Regions from separate parts of the Homo sapiens genome. Here region 2 is linked to region 1. The links are contacts of gene promoters, found by promoter capture Hi-C in human tissues and cell types (Jung and others, 2019). All regions are on one chromosome and are shown on one strand. Each heading gives the region's core, a stretch centred on a gene start or on the middle of the fragment in contact. The rest is flanking DNA. Distances are from core to core; before and after follow the strand shown.

Region 1 (3,500 bases), core at 374-2,873:
CAAAGTGTTGTGGGGGAAGTAGAAAAACAGACACTTATGTAACACAAGGCTATAAAAAAAGAGGAAACGGAGGGAATACTGAAGAGCTTCTTCAGTATTTCCAACTACCTAGGTTCTAGGTACCTAATTAAATAGTCATGTTATGTGTCATTTAAATCCTTTATTCATTGCATTACAATTTATTCACCATTACTTTATCTGGGTCATCTACCCTTAGTCCCATTATAATTGCCAATGCATTAAGGGTGACATTTGCCCATTTGCTATATGTAATTCACAGGATGTGGTGTTTTTCAGTACCAGATGTTTTGAGGGGAGCCACTTGCAATGGACTGTTTTTTGGTGTATGTGTTTTAATAGTTTGCCAGAACTGAGTTTGATTTGAAACAACGTTCTTGATTTTCAAATACAGCATTTTCAAACAAATAGTGTGATGTACAAATTACCATCACTTTAGTTCACGTTGAAATAATCCACACTCTAAATCTGTTTGACATTTACCCCTTAAGTATTTTGGATCAATAAATCATTTCTGTATCATCTAGCATCTTAAAATGTTCGTAAGTAACTACTTAATACCCTACATATCCAGGTCCTGTCCCATTAGTTTGAGGGAAAAAATATATTATAGTAATTAAGACATAATTATGTTGTCTTGAAAAGCTAAGGGTCATTTGGACTTGATTACCCAAGGAGTTATCAGTGCCAAGGAAAATTAGGCAACTACAGGCTTGGGCCTGTAATTAAACATCTAGGACTGACATTTTGTTCATCAGAGGTGGCACCTTCTGAATGAATTACACCATTTCATTTTAGACAAGCTACGGTACATACAAAACAAGTGTGTGGAGGGGGTTGGGGGGTGGACATGAATAGAGATTGGAGGTGGAGAGAAAGACCGGTGTAAACTTAAGCATTTTGTTGTGAAAAACTACTGTTCAGCCAGCCTGCCTGGGCTCCATATATGGTGTTCAAATATAAGTTTGGGACGAGCACCTTTGCAATTTTGGCCAAGAACACACACACACTCACCCTCCTCTGCTAGAGAGGGCCCGCTCACCTGGAACGCAGGCGGCTGGTTCTCCGTATTACAGTGAGTGCTCGTTCTGTATGTATAGGATGGCCAAGTAACTAACTGGCAGCCCTGCTCCTGCCTCACTCTCCCACAACTTTTTATCCCCTCACCACCAACGCTCTCAACAACCCCTGACACGTCTTCCCACAGGTCCCTGGCTCGCTGTCCGGTCTCTTCGTGTTGGTTTGTCCGTTTCCCACTCCTTCAGCGGTCTCAGGTGGAACACGCCAGGTGGGCGCTTGGCTGTGTTCTGGGGTCCCGAGTTGGAAAGGGATGCCCCCAGGCAGAAGGCGGCCGGCAGCCCTGGGGCAGAGGAGGACGAGGGGGAGGAGAGGAGCAGGAGGGCAGGGCAGAGAAGGAGGAGGAGGAGGACGGTGCAGAGGAGGAGGAGGAGGAGGAAGAGGACAGGGCAGAGGAGGAGGGAGTTGGCGGCCGCCGAGCCCCGGGCAGCGGGCCCCGTCCGCGGCCGGCGCGCTCCGTGGTCCTCCCTCGCTCGTCTCCTATGCTCATATTTGGACTCGGCTGCCCGTGCCCAGGAATTTCCCGTCATGCCTCCCGCCGCCCCGTCCGTCGCCCGGAGCCGGGGAGGGAGGGAGCGAGGTTCGGACACCGGCGGCGGCTGCCTGGCCTTTCCATGAGCCCGCGGCGGACCCTCCCGCGCCCCCTCTCGCTCTGCCTCTCCCTCTGCCTCTGCCTCTGCCTGGCCGCGGCTCTGGGAAGTGCGCAGTCCGGTAAGTTCGGGCTCCCCTCCCCTCTCCTCCTCGCCTCACCCCTCCCACCCCGACCCTGCCACGTTAGGGTGTGACCCCGAGCCGGGATTCCATTCTGCGCCTGCTGCGCCCCCTCGGCCACCTGCGGGGACAGCCCCTGCCTCAGCCGAGAAGGGGAGCAGAAGGGTTGCGCCCCGCGCCAGCGGTGAGGGGCCGAACGGAAGGAGGTCAGGGCTGGTTTCCCCCCACCCGCCGAAGGGAGGCGTCTGGCAGCCTCACTGACACCTTATCCTGTCCCGGGAGCGAACCTGAACCCGCGGGAGCCTCTCGCCCCGCGCGGGCCCAGGAGAGAGGGATCTGGCGGGGCAGCCCGCGGGAGGCAGGGGAGGGGTCCATCCCGGAGCCCTCTGCTCTGTGCGTCGACCCTGCCGGGGTTGCCGCTCAGATAACGGGCCCGAGGCGTGGGAACCGGCCCGCCAGGCCTGCGCTTTTCGCCGCGCGCCTCGGAGAGGACGGGGGTGCGGGGCGGCGGGCAGGCGGCAGGGAGGGGCGCACCCGGGAGCGCACCCGCCGCCCGCCCTCCCTGCGCTGCTGCCCCGCTGCTGGGCCAGACTCCAGCGGGCCCGCCTGGCATTTCACAGGCCAAAATCGAACAGAACCCCGAGTTTGCCAGGTATCAGTTTTGCTTTGTTTTTAAGCAGAAAAAGGCATCCAAGTCTATTTTTGAAGTTTTACACTGGGCTATTTCGAGTCAAACTATATGAATGAAAAGTGCTGTTCCTGCCTTATTTGGTTTAGGGCTAATAGCTATCGGAAGTGGCAGTTATGAAGTCGTTACAGTAAGACTTTATAAGATAATCTTCTTGAATCATGTGGGAACTGTTGGGGGGAATTTAATATCAGATTATTATTTTAAAAAGCAGTTATTTTAAAGTACAAAGGTAGGGATAAAGGTAAATGTGAAATTGCATGGACTTTTACGTTTGTGATGAGTAGTCGTCAAAGCTTCTTGCTTCTTAATTTTATCGGGAATGGAAGAATATAAATTATAATTCCTTAGAGCTGAGATTTCTTAGGAGATTTTAGTTTGCTTTTGTTTTTTCTACCAATAGACTAAATTGTCAAATAAGATATGGCAAACTAGGACTCATAAATTAGTTGAAACATGACTCTATGAAGCATAGATTATATTCAGTACTCTCTGGTTTATCTCTTCATATTTTCATTTGCAGCGCTGGTGGCAAGATCGATTTTCAAAAACAATTTTGTCTATAAAAAAACTTCAGGGTTCATATAACTTATAAAATTGTCAGTTCAGATTAATGGCAGATATTTACAATATTTAACTTTATTCAATTTGCAATTTGTAAATAGTAACTTGAGCAGTGATATCAGTTTCATGTTTCTTTCTGCATAGTATTGTTTTTCAAAAAAACCCTGTTTTTTATAGATTCATATTTTGGAAGTAACTTTAATAGCACTTCTTGGGAAATACAACAGGTTCTAATTTCACATTTTTCAATGGATTTCTAAAAAATACTGTGCTGGATAGTGAAGAGTGGATTTTATTGCCAGGAAACATATGTATGCTTTCTTTTTCCTCAGTGATGTGTTGACTTACCTAATACTTGTGGTGAAACGGCCTTCGAAGACCAGAATCCACTGTACTGGCCCCTTGCCAGTAATTTTGAACATCAAGTTTATATTTGGACCAT
Region 2 (3,829 bases), core at 1,060-3,559, 340 kb after region 1:
TATACTAGGAAATAGTCATATAAATGGAAAGATGGTTTTTCATGTCTTTTATGACTTGTTGTAAATGATTAATTAAATACTCTGAGTGTTTCATTAAATATATGCATTCCTTCCAAATTAAAGTGTGCAGAGACTCGTTATAAATAAATTCATTGGGTGAATGAAAGGAGCATTTACTTCTAAAGGAATATTACTGGCAAATTTCATTCTTGACATTGATTAAATAAACTAAATTTATTTTAATGGCAATATGAGCAAATTACAAGGCTAATTAGTTTTCTACTTTAGTATTTTTACATTATTTAATGCATTTATAAGTGATCCAACAATTTTAAGAATTTTACTACATAAAAAGCATTTTGTAATAAAATGTGAAAATGAAAGAATGAATAAGACATGGTTCTCGCTTCACTCATTTTCTACTTTCACGCTTCATGGAACAATTTTAAGTGTCTACTATGAGCAAACCCTTTTCCTGAATGTTGCAGGCAATAGAAAGGAAAAATAAGACTTGTTTCTTCCCTCTAAAAGCTTGAAATGTCATGGCAAAAACATATGCACAAAATAACTTTAATGTAAGACAGACTTTGGTAAGTAAGTGCTAAAATAATAGAGGTACAAAGTGCTTGGGGAGTATAAGAAATGGAGGGATTAAGACTGATGGGGAGAGGATCAAGAAAGGCTTCTCGGAGGAGGAAGGGTTTGAGCTTGGCCTTGAGAGATGGCTGGAAATTTAACAGGAGGCTCTGGGCGGGGGAGGAGAAGAGAAAGGGGTTGTATGGTCTCTGGGTTGCAGGGTTGTTCTATAGCGGGGTTTTGGTGTTTCTCTGGACAATTTTCAACTGTCACATGGAAGAGATGTGTCACACAGAAAATACACAGAGCAACTAGAAACTGGTCTGAAAATACAGCCACGTGACTTCAGTGAAGAAACATATCAGGCCTGAAGTGTGGGCAACAACAGTGACAGGTATAATTAGACATTGAGCAGATCAGTGTTTTTTGATTAATAAGCTTGTTCTTCCTATACATTAACTCATGGGCCTGAAAGGAACTTCAGGAAGTTACTTAGGTCACCCCTGACTATGTTTTTTTTTTTAATTATTATTATTCTTCCCTTAGCCTCAGCCCTATAATATGAGCTCTTCAAATGCTCAGACCCTTGGGCTCTGCATGAGGACCAATACAACTAATAAAATATAGTAGTGGCAGCAGTTGAAGCCGCCTTGTGATACCACTATTTTGTAGCCATATTAATAATATTGTGTGAGAATTGAGGCAAGGGTTTTGTGAGTCTTTCAGGGCTGCCCTTCTTTTAATAAGCCCCTGACAAGTTACAGCTTCTGCTTGGGGTAAAAGCTGATCACAGGACTTATGCACAATGGCTTCCACCGCCTTGCCTTAACAATTTATCCCTATCTAGCTACCAATTAGAAGCCTAAAGTTATAGAATGCTAGCGCTGGAGTAGTTATTAGGATTAATCTAACCCAAGCCCTTTGTTTTTCATTTTACAATGGAGGAAAGAGAATCTTAGGGGAAGTGATATGCCTAAAGTCACACAGTTAATGATTGGCTTACCTGAACTAGAACTAGAATGTAAATCTCTAAGTTTCCTAACTTTCAAATCAGTTTCTCTCTCCTGCAGCACACTGCCTTTTTTATTTGCATCAACAGTGTATGTGTGTATGTGCATTAATATTTCTAAGAGTTTGGCTTAAAGCATTCAGTAGGTGCCCATAGAATAATGTATGTTAAGCCAGAGAAGTAAAATGCATTGGATCAAAACATTCTCACTTGGAAAAAACATTAGAATCCTGGGAATTTCTTGAAATGCAAGAAAGCTCAGCCTCCAGGACTTGCAGTGTAAACACTGTGGCTAATTTGTTGAAGTGAGATGCCATTGATGATTCTCCCTGCCTTGAGAGATGACAGGGCTCCTTCGCAGAAAAAGCTGATTGCTGTAGCAGATTGCTAGGGGAAGGCACATTGCAAAAAGTGATCAGGAAAAGACAAGACATGTTACCAAGACAGATCATTTTTCTTGAAGAGGAGTTAAAAAAAGACACTAAAAAGGAATTCCTCCCATAAAGTTTGTCTTTCAGAGAGCAACCATTTCTACAACTCCGTTCCTGCCTAAAGAAGCAGGCTGTAACCTGGAGCAAAGCTTGGAGAGGCTAGTACATCAGTTTTACAGAAGCAGTTCTAAGAATAGTGAATATGGATAATACAGACAGCAACCCAGACACTTGATCCATGCGTTTGCTACGTAAAAGTTGGATGAGAATAACTTTCAACAAATTTACTTTCCAGTGACTTGTTATTTTTTAAATTGTATTCTTATTAATAAAAATGATACTTTGATACTGGGTATGTAACCAAAGGAAAATAAATCATTCTACCAAGAAGACACATACCCTTGTATGTTTATCACTGCACTATCCACAATAACAAAGACATTGGAATCAACCCAGGTGCCCATCACCGGTAGATTGGATTAAGAAAATGTGGCACATATACACCATGAAATGCTACAAAGCCATACAAAAAGAATGAAATCATGTCCTTTTCAGCAACGTGGATGCAGTTGGAGACCATAGTACTAAGTGAATTCACGAAGGAATAGAAAGCCAAATACCACATGTTCTCACTTACATTAGGAGCTAAACATTGAGAACATATGGACATAAAATGGGAGCGATAGACACTAGGGACTACTGGGAGGGGGGCATGGGTTGAAAAACTACCTATCAGGCACTATGTTCACTACCTTGGTGATGGGGGCTGTACTCCAAACCTCAGCATGGTGCAATATTCACATGTAACAAACCTGCATGTGTACCCCCTGTATCTAAAATATAAACTGAAATTAGAAAAAAAACAGAAGCCAACACCATGAGGTTTTCAGCTCCCCCATAATCTCCATAACCCTCTTTAGTCCTAAATAAACATAAATGTAAGTAAAAATAAATAAATAAAAAATAAAGATGACACTGTTTCTCCACTTATTTTCTTATCAAAGAAAAATGGCCACAAGCCATTCTGTAGAATAAGCTGCCTTATAAGAGTTTTATCCTTTTGACGTGATTTGATTTGAGGCTGTCCTTCTTTTCATTTGCTTTTAAATTCTATGTACAATAGAATAATTCAATTCCATGGGATATTTTTAAAATTCTTGTTTCCATCCATCAGTGAGTACTTTTCTTCTATTGCTATGAGATAATTTTTATTCTAATTCTACATGAAAATGGCAAATCAGATGTTAGAGCAGAAAGCTACCTTAGCAACCATCTGCTGCGATGTCCTCATGTTCTAGATGTAGGAATGTCCAGGGATTTCTTGATTTTTGGTGGCTCACCCAGGGGAAGACAGGGCATAAAATCTAGCTAGGACACACTTTCTGCTCCTACTCCTGTGCTCTTTCACTGCCAGACATTTCACCTTCATTAGAACAGCGCCTTAAATCATGTTTGTCTTAGGAAATATACCTCACTTTTCATATTTTAATGTGCTCACTTTCAAGGAAGCTTTAGAAAAACCATGAAATGCCTTTTATTTTTAACTTTAATTTTAATGAAAGGTGAAATTTTCTTTCTATATTAAATTCCAGGTAGGAGAGTTACTATTAATAAGTTAGTTATGTTTATTTGTGGCTACATTAGTCAGATTTGGGCTATACTAATTCTGGGTAGCAAACAACTATGAAATCTTAGTGGGTTCAACAATAAAGTTTCACTTTTTGGCTAAGGATCTGTGCATTGGCAGGCTCTAGGTGAGTTCAGGTTTGCTCTACCTAATTTCTCACTCTGGTAGCTGACTGGGACTTGCTTG

The links. Contacts are between HindIII fragments. The study calls those that stand out against the background at their distance.
Region 2: a contact is called between a fragment that was not itself captured here and the fragment with the promoter of MSRB3 in region 1, in 1 of the 25 tissues and cell types used here (hippocampus).

What each region holds. Positions count from the first base shown.
Region 1 is chr12:65,277,060-65,280,559 of GRCh38, forward strand. It overlaps MSRB3 (methionine sulfoxide reductase B3), which reads left to right and starts at 1,624. Exons shown (of 7, transcript NM_001031679.3): 1 at 1,624-1,806. RefSeq lists silencers at 1,834-1,963, 2,064-2,373. The HindIII fragment of the contact is 15,252 bases long and covers 1-3,500 here.
Region 2 is chr12:65,618,332-65,622,160 of GRCh38, forward strand. All of the region lies in intron 1 of MSRB3-AS1 (MSRB3 antisense RNA 1), which reads right to left. Among named protein-coding and RNA genes, the nearest start is that of LINC02454, 17 kb to the left of the region's middle. The HindIII fragment of the contact is 3,074 bases long and covers 773-3,829 here.